4 separate regions of the Homo sapiens genome follow, and all the other regions are linked to region 1. The links are contacts of gene promoters, found by promoter capture Hi-C in blood cells and fetal thymus (Javierre and others, 2016). All regions are on one chromosome and are shown on one strand. The core of a region is centred on a gene start or on the middle of the fragment in contact, and the rest is flanking DNA. Distances in the headings are between cores, read along the strand shown. Region 1 holds the start of OR13D1 (olfactory receptor family 13 subfamily D member 1). Region 2 has its middle 240 kb from the start of GRIN3A. Region 3 overlaps LINC00587 (long intergenic non-protein coding RNA 587). Region 4 overlaps LINC00587 (long intergenic non-protein coding RNA 587).

The links. Contacts are between HindIII fragments. The CHiCAGO score rates a contact against its expected background, and 5 or more counts as called.
Region 2: a contact is called between a fragment that was not itself captured here and the fragment with the promoter of OR13D1 in region 1, in 2 of 17 cell types (M2 macrophages and M0 macrophages). The highest score is 12.0, in M2 macrophages.
Region 3: a fragment that was not itself captured here is called in contact with the fragment with the promoter of OR13D1 in region 1 in 1 of 17 cell types (M0 macrophages); the score reaches 5.4 in M0 macrophages.
Region 4: a contact is called between a fragment that was not itself captured here and the fragment with the promoter of OR13D1 in region 1, in 1 of 17 cell types (M2 macrophages). The highest score is 6.7, in M2 macrophages.

Annotation. Positions count from the first base shown.
Region 1 is chr9:104,692,904-104,695,892 of GRCh38, forward strand. It overlaps OR13D1 (olfactory receptor family 13 subfamily D member 1), which reads left to right and starts at 1,615. Exons shown (of 1, transcript NM_001004484.2): 1 at 1,615-2,559. The coding sequence starts at 1,615. The coding sequence ends at 2,559. The region is part of intron 1 of LOC107987105 (a long non-coding RNA gene); the gene reads right to left. The HindIII fragment of the contact is 5,977 bases long and covers 1,136-2,989 here.
Region 2 is chr9:101,980,661-101,983,649 of GRCh38, forward strand. No RefSeq gene overlaps it. Among named protein-coding and RNA genes, the nearest start is that of GRIN3A, 240 kb to the left of the region's middle. The HindIII fragment of the contact is 414 bases long and covers 1,305-1,718 here.
Region 3 is chr9:102,627,077-102,630,065 of GRCh38, forward strand. All of the region lies in intron 3 of LINC00587 (long intergenic non-protein coding RNA 587), which reads left to right. Among named protein-coding and RNA genes, the nearest start is that of LINC00587, 110 kb to the left of the region's middle. The HindIII fragment of the contact is 4,148 bases long and covers 1-2,989 here.
Region 4 is chr9:102,647,085-102,650,073 of GRCh38, forward strand. All of the region lies in intron 4 of LINC00587 (long intergenic non-protein coding RNA 587), which reads left to right. Among named protein-coding and RNA genes, the nearest start is that of LINC00587, 130 kb to the left of the region's middle. The HindIII fragment of the contact is 2,770 bases long and covers 138-2,907 here.

The sequences.
Region 1 (2,989 bases), core at 365-2,864:
ACTGAGCAGACCAGGCAGGGTGGCTCATGCCTGTAATCCTAGCAGTTTGGGAGGCCAAGGTGGGAGGATCACTTGAGGCCAGGAGTTCGACACCAGCCTGGCCAATATGATATGAACCCCGTCTCTACTAAAAATACAAAAATTAGCCAGGTGTAGTGGAGCATGCCAGTAATCTCAGCTACTCGGGAGGCTGAGGCAGGAGAATCGCTTGAATGTGGGAGGTGGAGGTTGCAGTGAGCTGAGATCGCGCCATTGCACTCCAGCCCAAGCAACAGAGCAAGATTCCGTCTTAAAAAAAAAAAAAAAAAAAAAAAACAGCGAGAGAAAAGAAAAGAAAACTGAGCAGACCACAATCAAAAGCTACAGGAAAAAGTAAGTGGTCCAGCCTTCAGAGTTCTCCATCACATCACATATGATCAGAATCACAAGTAAATGATGTTTGCTGTCTCACTGTACCCCAACAGAAGATACATTTTTGTAATAGTCTTCTCTTGCGTGGAATCTGTGTAGTAACCACTGAGAGAGAGTAGTGTATGGTGGGTAAAAGGGCTGATTCTATAGCCAGATGGCTAGATATTGAATTCTGGCTTTAGTATTTACTATCTGTATGACCTTGAGAAAGTTACTTAAACTTTTCTTTGTCTCTGTTTCCTACTTTGTAAAATGGCAGTAATACTACACTTAAGAAGAGAGAATCCCAGGGCCTGGAAAAAAAGCTGTACATGCTGGGACCTAGACTCCTTAATCTCTGGAAGCTTCTAGAACAGTCCTCCAATGATTCTCAGACTCCTAACAGGTTTTTGAAAGAAGTGCAATGAAATATCCCACTGAGAACAAAAATGTTCACAGTCTGTCAAGTGTGGTTTCAAACTTTAAACCTTTTACCTTTAAAAAGCTAAATCTACTTTTCCCTTTTAAGATTGGTAGATCTAAATATTATACTATAATTCATAAAATGCATGTGTATAAAAATACATTTAATATTATATCTTGTATAAGGTAAATATAATTATATTACATATATGCATACACACACACACACACACATATGCCATGTTGGAACCATTAGGTTCTAGGCACCTAATATTTTATCTAATTCTAACTATACTCTAAGAAATAATTATTGCTTTTTCCAAGCTTACTATGAACTATCTGCAACTCAGAAAAATAAACAACTTACCAAAGCTACATCCAGGTTAAATGATATGTCACTGGCAGTCTATAAAATCTTTTAAATAGAGGCCAGCTTCATCAAAAAAACAGCTTTAAGTTCAAAATCTCTTTCTACATTTGAAAGCAGCATGTTCCTAAACTTTATTTGACACTTCCCAGAATAATTCTGGCAGTATTGGTAGCTTTGAATGTGCTGCTGTGTAGTCCTAAGATATATTGGGTTTCTCAATGTCTCAATTTTCATAATCAATAAAACTAGTACAATATCCATACTGTTTTGCTTACTGAGAGTATTCTAAGAATCAAACACAATATCGGAAGCAAATTTGTATTGAAAATTTGTAGATGTACAGATTTACAGATTTTGATGTATCAAACATTTCAATTTACCTGAATCATGTCCTTTTCTATACTACCCAGCAGGCAGGTGACCTAGAACACATGGAGACAAGAAATTACTCTGCCATGACTGAATTCTTTCTGGTGGGGCTTTCCCAATATCCAGAGCTCCAGCTTTTTCTGTTCCTGCTCTGCCTCATCATGTACATGATAATCCTCCTGGGAAATAGCCTCCTCATTATCATCACCATCTTGGATTCTCGCCTCCATACTCCCATGTATTTCTTTCTTGGAAACCTCTCATTCTTGGACATCTGTTACACATCCTCATCCATTCCTCCAATGCTTATTATATTTATGTCTGAGAGAAAATCCATCTCCTTCATTGGCTGTGCTCTGCAGATGGTTGTGTCCCTTGGCTTGGGCTCCACTGAGTGTGTCCTCCTGGCTGTGATGGCCTATGACCACTATGTGGCCATCTGCAACCCACTGAGGTACTCCATCATCATGAACGGAGTGCTGTATGTGCAAATGGCTGCATGGTCCTGGATCATAGGCTGTCTGACCTCCCTATTGCAAACAGTTCTGACAATGATGTTGCCTTTCTGTGGGAATAATGTCATTGATCATATTACCTGTGAAATTTTGGCCCTTCTAAAACTTGTTTGTTCAGATATCACCATCAATGTGCTTATCATGACAGTGACAAATATTGTTTCACTGGTGATTCTTCTACTGTTAATTTTCATCTCCTATGTGTTTATTCTCTCTTCCATCCTGAGAATTAATTGTGCTGAGGGAAGAAAGAAAGCCTTCTCTACCTGTTCAGCGCACTCGATTGTGGTCATCTTATTCTACGGTTCAGCCCTTTTTATGTACATGAAACCCAAGTCAAAGAACACTAATACATCTGATGAGATTATTGGGCTGTCTTATGGAGTGGTAAGCCCAATGTTAAATCCCATCATCTATAGCCTCAGGAATAAAGAGGTCAAAGAGGCTGTAAAGAAAGTCCTGAGCAGACATCTGCATTTATTGAAAATGTGAAAAACCTTGGGCATGCGATATCCTCAATGGGGCAAGAGAGCTTGTCTTTTGTATTTAGATACTGCAAAACCTACTGTCACGAGAGCTTGTGTGTTTGCAAAACCAACTATTAGATTCCCATTCTTTTCAACGTAGAATTTTCATGCTCATGTAACCTTCTTAATAGTGCCTTGTCTGCTGGGTTTGTAGCTGTAAGCAGTTCTGCAAACTGGCCCTATAAAAATATTGATGCTGTCCATTAAAATGAATCTCTCTCTCTCACTCAGTCTCTCTCTCTGTCTGTCTCTCTTTCTTCTCTCTCCTGCCATGTGTGTGTCTCTCTCTACTCCTCTGATTTTGTCCTCTCTCTCTATTCTGCTACTCTCTCTCCTCTCCTCCGTATATTTTCTTTCTCTTCCTTTCTTTTCTGTTGTCTCCTTTCTCAGTCACT
Region 2 (2,989 bases), core at 262-2,761, 2.7 Mb before region 1:
AACATATTCAAACAGATAGCAATAGAGTTTTCTCTGCAGGCTCAAAGTGGTTTTAAGTTACTCAAGTGTTTCATATTTATTGATGATAATGTTTTAACAAAGAGATGCTGAGTTATGATTACCATAAACCACTGGCAAATCTGCCATTTCAAGTCCAAAGTATAGTGGAATGCAAATCATTTGCATTTATCTCTTTATCGCCAGCCAGACTTAAACTACTTAGAACTGACTTCATAACTGATTACTATTAGGAACAATGTTTGGACATGAATAATGTTAAAGGCACCATGAGGTGTCACAAGAATTACGTGCCTCTTGTGTCATGGCATCTCTGAATGCCATTTTATTTGCAGAGCTTTATGCTCCACAAATATTTGGTAGATACAGTACAGAAGTGATATAATATTTTTATAGACAATTCTGAATGAGTATAACATCATCTTACAGATTGGAGGAGAAAGACGTTTATTTATCTCACATGTCTGCAGCCAACTATTAATGTCTTTTCATGCTAGTAGACTTTTGTCTGTCCCCTTCTTGTATAATAATGGATTTGGTCAATATTAAAGAAAATTTAGACTATATTATTTTATAAAATTAAATGTTATTTGCAAGGCTTCCTCTGTTGAGGCTTACTGAATTTCTTGCTAATTCAGAGCTCCTTTCTATTTTTATAGCAATGTTCCCAGAGTGACAGCCTAAGCCGCATTCACATGATACATTTGTCAATGTCTAGGCTTGCCTTGAATGTTCACACTGTGTGCTAACTAGAAATTGATTTGAATATTGAACTACTTACAGGCATACTTCATTTTATTTTGCTTCACTTAATTGTGCCTCACAGTTATTGCATTTTTAAAACTAATTAAAGGCCATGGCAACCCTGGCAGGGCATCCAGCCAGTCTATCAGGACTATTTTTCCAATAGCATGTACCCACTTTGTATCTCTGTGTCACATTTTCATAATTCATGCAATATTTCAAACTTTTTAAAAAATTATTCTATCTCATGGTGATCTGTGGTCAGTGATCTTCAGTGTTACTGTTGTAATTGTTTTGGGGCTCCATGAACTGTGCCCATATAAGACAGAGAACTTAATAAATGTTATGTATGTTCTGACTGCTCCACTGGCCAGCTGTTCCCCCCTGTCTCTCTCTCTCCTCAGTCCTCTCTATGTCCTGAGGCACAACAATGATGAAATTGGGTCAATGAATAATTAGAGGCCCTACAATGGCCTTTAATTGTTCACAGGAAAGGAATTGTCATACATCTCTCACATACAATCAGAAGCTAGACATGATTAAGCTTAGTGAAAAAAGCATGTCAAAAGTTGAGATAGGCCAAAAGCTGGGCCTCTTGTGCCATGCTGTTAGCAAAATTGTGGTGGCAAAGGAAATCTTCTTGAAGAAAATTAAAAGTGCTACACCAGTGAACACACAAATGATAAGAAAGTGAAACAACTTTTGCTGTTTCAGTGAAATTGCTGATAGAATATTTTAGTGGTCTGGATAGAAGATCAAACCAGCCACTACACTCCCTTAAGCCAAAGCCTAATGTGGAGCAAGGCACCAACTCTTCAATTCTATCGAGGCTGCAAGAGGTGAGGAAGCTGCAGAAGAAAACTTTGAAGGTAGCAAATGTTAGTTCATGAGGTTTAAGAAAATAACCCGTCTTCATAACATAAAAGTACAAGATGATGGAGCAAGTGTGAAGTAGAAGCTTCAGTAAGTTATTCAAAAGATCTAGCTAAGATAATTGATGAAGGTAGCTACACTAAACAACAGATTTTTCATGTAGACAAAACAGCTTTATAATGAAAGAAGGTGCCACCTAGGACTAGCAAGATAACTAGATTTAGAAGTGGAGCCCAAAGATGTGACTGAATTGCTGAAATCTCATGATAAAACTTAAATGGATAAATTGCTTCTTATGAATTAGCAAAGAAAGTAGTTTCTTCAGATGGAGCCTACCCCCAAGTGAAGATGCCATACACATTGATGAAGTGACAATGAAGGACTTAGGATAATGTATAAATTTAGTTGATAAAGCAGCAATGGAGTTTGAGAGAAATGACTTCAATTTTGAAAGAAGTTCTACTGCAGTAAAATGCTTTTAACAGCATCCCATGCTCCAGAGAAATCTTTCATAAAAGGAAGAGTTAATCAGTGTGGCAAACTCCATTGTCTTATTTTTAAAAATTGCCACAATTACCCCAACCTTCAACAACCACCAGCCTGATCAGTCAGCAGCCATCACATAAATCCTCCACCAACAAAAAGATGATGACTTGTTGAAGCTCAGATGGTAATTAGCATTTTTGTAAGAAAGTATTTTTAAATTAAGGTATATGCATTTCTCGTTAAGATAGATATAATGTTATTGCACACTTAGTAGACAGACTAGAGTATAGTTAAATGTAACTTTTATATGCAATGGGAAACCGAAAAATTTCTGTGACCTTCTTTATTGTAATGTTCACTTCATTGTGGTGGCCTCAAACTGAACTCACAATATTTCCAAGGTACGCTTGTTCTTTCACAGGAAATACATCTGACTGGAGTCCATAATGCCTGTGGACCTCCAGAGCTAAAACATCAAAGCTACAGTGAAAGAGTGGTCTTTTCTTCACTGCTATGCCCTCAAAGGAGAAGGGACTTATCCTGAGGAAAGGGAGAGCTGAGGTGGACCGTTGTAGATAGAGACATCCCGTTGCTGAGACAATGGGAGTGTCGTCCAGCCTCCACACTGGTGTTGAAGCCAAAACGGCACCAACAAATTTAAAGGCAAGGAAAACTTTATTTATTTATTTACATGTTTTTGAGACAGAGCCTCACTCTGTCACCTAGGCTGGAGTGCAGTGGTGCGATCTCAGGTCACTGCAGCCTCCTCTTCCCAGGTTCAATCAATTGTCTTGCCTCAGCATCTTGAGTAGCTGGGACTACAGGGATGCATCAATGCGCCCAGCTAATTTTTGTATTTTTAGTAGAG
Region 3 (2,989 bases), core at 294-2,793, 2.1 Mb before region 1:
TATTGCTGGGTCAAATGATAGTTCTTTTTAAGTTTGTAGAGAAGTCAACCAATTGCCTTCTCAGGTGGCTGAACTAATTTACATTCCCACCAACAGTGTATAAGTGTTCACTTTTATCTGAAGTTTCACCAAATCTGTTCTTTTTTGACTTTTTAATAATAGCTATGCTGACTGGTGTGAGATGGTATCCCATTGTGGCTTTAATTCGTATTTCTCTGATAATGATATTGAAGATTTTTTCATATATGTTTGTTGCTTCTTATGTCTTCTTTTGATAAACATCTATTCATGTTTTTTACTTGGTATTTGTTTTTTATAGATTCCGGATATTAGACCTTTGTCAGAAGCATAGTTTGTGAGTATTTTTTCTCATTATGTAGGTTGTCTGTTTACTCTTTTGATAGTTTCTTTTGCTGTGCAGAAGCTCTTTAGTTTAATTAGGTCCCACTTGTTGATTTTTGTTTTTGTCGCAAATGCATTTGGGGACTTAGCCAAAAATTCTATGCCAAGACCAATGTTGAGAAGGGTATTTTTTGGTTTTCTTCTAGGATTTTTAGAGTTTAGATCTTAAATTTAAAACTTTAATTCACCCTGAATTAATTTTTTGACTATAATGAAAGATAAGCAGTTTCATTCTTCTGAATATAGGTATCCAGTTATCCCAGAACCATTTCTTGAATAGGAAGTCCTTTCCCCATTGCTTGTTTTAGTTTGCCTTGAAGATCAGATGGCTTATTTCTGAGTTTTCTCTTCTGTTCCATTGGTCTATGTGTTTGTTTTTGTACTGGGACCATGCTGTTTTGGTTATTTTAGCCTTATGGTATAGTTTGAATTCAGGTAGTGTGATGCCTCTGTCTTTGTTCTTTTGCTTTGGATTGCTTTGGCTATTTGGGCTCTTTTTTGTTTTTATATGTTAGAATAGTTTTGCTAATCCTGTGAATAACATTGGTAGAGTGATAGGAACAGCATTGAATCAATAAATTACTTTGGGCAATATGATCATTTAAATAATATAGATTCTTATAATCCATGAGCATGAAATGTTTTTCCATGTTTTGTGTGTGTTGACTCTGATTTCTTTCACCATTGTTTTGTAGATCTCCTCGTGGAAATCTTTTATCTCCTTGGTGAGATACATTCCCAGGTCTTTTCTTTGTGGATATTGTAAATGAGATTGTGTTCTTGATTTGGTTCTCCCATGAATGTTACTAGTGTATAAAAATGCTACTGATTTTCATACATCGATTTTGTAGCCTGAAATTTTATAAAGTTATTTATCGATGCTAGTAACCTTTTGGCAGAGTCTTTAGGGTATTCTGGCTATAGAATCATACTATCAGTGAAGAAAGATAATTTGAGTTCTTTTTTTCCTATTTGGATGCCTTTTGTTTCTTTCACTTGCCTGATTGCGCTAACTAGAATATTGAGTATTATGTTGATTGGGGTGGTAAGAATGATCATCCTTATCTTGTTCCAGTTCTCAAGGGGAATGTTTCCAGCTTTTAGCTATTCAAAATGATTTTGACTGTGGATGTGTCATAGATGACTTATTTTTTTGAGGTATGTTCCTTGGATGCCTAGTCGATTGAGGATTTTTATCGTGAAGGTATACTGGATTTTATCAAAACTTATTTCTACATCTATTGAGATGACTATATCATTTTTGCTTTTGATTTGTATATGTGGTGAATTACATTTATTGATTTACATATGTTGAACAAGGAATAAAGTTTACTTGAACGTGGTGTTTTAACTTTCTGGTCTGCTGCTGGATTCATTTTGCTAGTATTTTACTGAGGATTTTTGTGTTTAGGTACATCAGGGACATGGGCCTAAGGTTTCCTTTTTTTGTTGTGTCTCTGCCAGATATTGGTATCAGGTTGAGGCTGGCTTCATATATTGACTTAGGGAGAAGCCCCTCCTCCTTGATTTTTTGGAATAGTTTCAATAGGATTGGTATCAGTTCTTGTAAGCCTGATACAATTTGGCTCTAAATCCATCTGTTTAATGGATTTTTGTTTGTTCGATTGGTAGGTTGTTTATTATTAATTCAATTTCAGAACTCAATATTGGTCTATTAAGGGTTTCAATCTCTTCCTGATGCAATCTTGGGAGATGGTATTTTTTCCAGGAATTTACTCATTTCCTCTAAATTTTACAATTTATGTGCATAGAGTTGTTTGCAGTATTCTCTGAAGATCTGTTGTAGTTTTCTGGTATGAGTTGTAATGTCATCTTTGTCATTTAACATTGCACTATTTGGATCTCTTCTGTTTTTGATAATCTAGCTATCATTTTTTTTTTGAAGGAACAACTCTTGGTTTAATCAATCTTTTGTATGGTTGTTTGCATCTCAATTTTTTCATTTCATCTCTAATTTTAGTTGTTTTTCTCCTGCTAGCTTTGGGGTTGGTTTGCTTTTTGTTTTCTAGATACTTTAAGTGTGATATTAGGTTATTGTGAGATCTTTGTAAGTTTTTGATATGAGCATTTAGCATTATAAACTTTCCTCTTAACATGGTTTAGCAGTGTCCCAGAGATTCCAATATGTTGTATCTTTGTTCTCATTAATTAAAAAATTCTTGATTTCTTTCTTAATTTTGAAGTTCCCTAGGAATTATTCAGGATCAGATCATTTAAATTCTGTATATTTGTGCAGTTTTGAGAGATGTCCTAATGATTACTATTTTTACTGTACTATGGTCCTAGAGTGTACTTGCTATGATTTAAAATTTTTTGTATTTATTGAGACTTGCTTTATGATCAAATATGTGGTCAATCTTAAAATACCTATCTTAAAATACCAATCTAAAATGTGTGCAGATGAGAAAAATGTATACTTTGTGATTTTTCAGTGGATTGTTGTGATGATGTCTATTAGGTCGAATTCATCTAGTGTTGCGTTTAAGTCCAGAGTTTCTTAATTTTCTGCCTCAATGATCTGTTTAACATGGTTAGTGGGCTGTTGTAAGTCTCCACTAGTATTGTG
Region 4 (2,989 bases), core at 273-2,772, 2.0 Mb before region 1:
ATATATATATATATATATATATATATATATATATATATTAGTTCTGTCCTTCTAAGAGAAACCTGACTAATACACACGATTTCTACTTTACATTTTTCCCACAAAATATCACATTTTTCACTCATGTCTGCATTAGAAGCTTTATTCCCTTATTTATTGAGTTATGTTATTTCTTCATATTCTATATTGATTGTGAAGCATATGATAGATATTTCATTCTTATAAAGGATTAATTGCAAATTAAGGTATATTTAAGTCTTAATAATATCAAACTTACACTTTACAATTTCACTGCTTTTGTATGTGATCTCATATATCTAATTTTCCTTGGTTTCTCTTTTAGTTTGTTTTTTTTTGTCCTAAACTGACATATTTAATATTTATTATCTTTCTCTGATTCAAAGAATTTGTTTTCAACATGCTAATGAAAAGGTGTGGTTTACATCAGTAAATTGTTCAGTTAGGAAAAATCCATCCTGTGAAAAATGTAATGAGAAAAAGTAGAGTAATCCTATAAAAACTGAAAAACATTATGATACACACATGAACACATACATGCATGCACATGTATCTGAGAAAATTTAATATAGACTGGAACTAGATAACAAGAAGTATATTTATATTTTAGATATAAAAATGACTGGTTATATACAAAATAGTATTCTTATACTGCAGATAACTTACTTACAAAATTCATTTTAATTAAAACCAGGAATTAGAATAATAGTAAAATATTTCATGCTAGAATTTTAGATTATGTTGGTCAGTTTTATTTATTCTCATTTTTGTTTTGTTTCTTATTTTTACATATGCCATTAAATGGAGGAAAGTATGACACAATGCTAGTAGTATCTTCAGGTAATTGTTTCAAAATTGGTTCTAGTGAATTAACGAAAGTATTTAAAATATTGAGAAACCTGTCATTATTTACTAATTCTATTTGGAATAACCTAGACAGCAATAAATCAAGCAAAATGTGCAGAACATCACAAAATGATTAACTCATTCTCTTCAATGAATTATATCACTCTTTTTGTGTACAGATTTTCCAGCATCAAATTAAATTTTAAAATAATTACACTGGTTATGAGATTGGTAAACATGCATTCTAAGGCATAGCTGTGCTATTTTCTGGCAATGTTCTCTTTGATAAATTACTTATTCAATCATTATTTATTTAATTGTAAAATAAACATACAGAACACTTGCTATTTCAACACATAACACTATTTCACTAGATAGGTTATTTTATTTAATTCTCTCAATATTGTAAGAAGCAAGGCATTGATAGCTTAATTTTATACATAATAAGATACCAAGAGTAACTCATTGTATGTGTGTGTGTGCACATGTAAATTATTGATATAATTTTAGACTTATAGAAAAGTTACAAAAATAGTGTATATAAATCATATATCCTTTATCCAGAGCCACCAATTATAAAGTTTCCCATTTATCATTATTCTCTTTTTTCTGTTTTCTCTCTTCTCTCACTTTCTTCCTCACTCTAAGAGTATATGATTTTGTGTATATATTTTAAAATCATTTGAGTGTAAGTTAGGAACATAGTACTCATTTATTCCTTAGTACTTCACTATGTATTTACTAAGATTGAGGTTTTTCTATTATATACCACAATATAGCTATCAAAATCAAGATATTTAATATAAATGCCATGCTATTATCCATATTAGATCCTGTATACAAATTTATTTTATTGTTCCAATATTGTGTTTTAAATTTCTTTTGTTTTTCCAATCCTGGAGCTAATCCAGAATCACTTACTGCATTTACCTGTTATCTTTCTGAGACATCTATTATATAAAACAGTTCCTCAGATCTTCCTTTTCTTTTATTGTAGAACATATTATAATTGAAAACATTAATAATTATATATGACATGGCAAATGTCAGGATAGCAGTTGTTGGTAAAATGGTTTGTTATAATTAAATGAGATGCTACATGTAGGAAACATTCAGTGAAACAATATATCAAAAATAGTCTATTAATTTATTCTAACAGTAGTATGTGTGATATACTAAAAAATTAACTAAAAATTAACTAAAAGCATTGACTATTTGGAAAGATATCCATTTAAATGGTTGAAATTATTTTAGAGAATAATTTCTATTCTTTACATTATCATTGATACATCATATTCAAAGTTGTGTTTAGATGTAATTAAAAGAGTAATCACCTGATTGACTAACCAACTAATATAATTAATTTTTCATCTCTTTACCTTTTGTTTTCTGTTTCTTTGAAGTTATGTTTGTCTTGAAATATAGTTTCTAATCACTTTTTGTAAAGTATCAATTCCACTGTGTCTTAGCTATGTGAGGTTGTTCAAGTTGTAATTTCCATTTTTATTCGTCACTTATTTAAATTGAGTCTAAGTGATAGTTCCTTTCCCCACGAGGAAGCGAATAGTAAATATTCAAATGGCATTCAAAATATTTGTTTAATTATTTATGAATTGCACCATTGGTTGTAAATTAAGATCAGATACTTAAGATGCACATATACATGAGTTAAAATCAAGTTACTAACTGTTTGCCTTATGGCAATTTGAGGCTCTTGAAATCCCCATTTCCTTAGTTGTAAAATAGAAATGATAATAATATCTATCTTATAGAGCTTTGGATATATTTAACTAAAGTAATGCACTTAAAGTGATTAGCCTGGTGTCTCAAAAATGGAAAGCGTTCAGCTGGATATTCCTATAGGCCACATATTTATGTTTTTTTTCTCTGTGAACCTCAGAGGATAGTTCAAAATAATTTTTTTAAACACTTAGAGCTGTGTAATAAGGAAATATATTGCCTGTGAATGCTCTACATTGAAAATAATAAGATTCTGTAAGAGGTACTAAAGAGTCTATTTCTCCAGTCAGGCTAAGCCCTCTAAGCTTTCTATTAAGACTTTTTTAACATTAGATTTTATGATGCTATGACTTTATGTTCAATATCTGAAGATTAGCTAGAGATC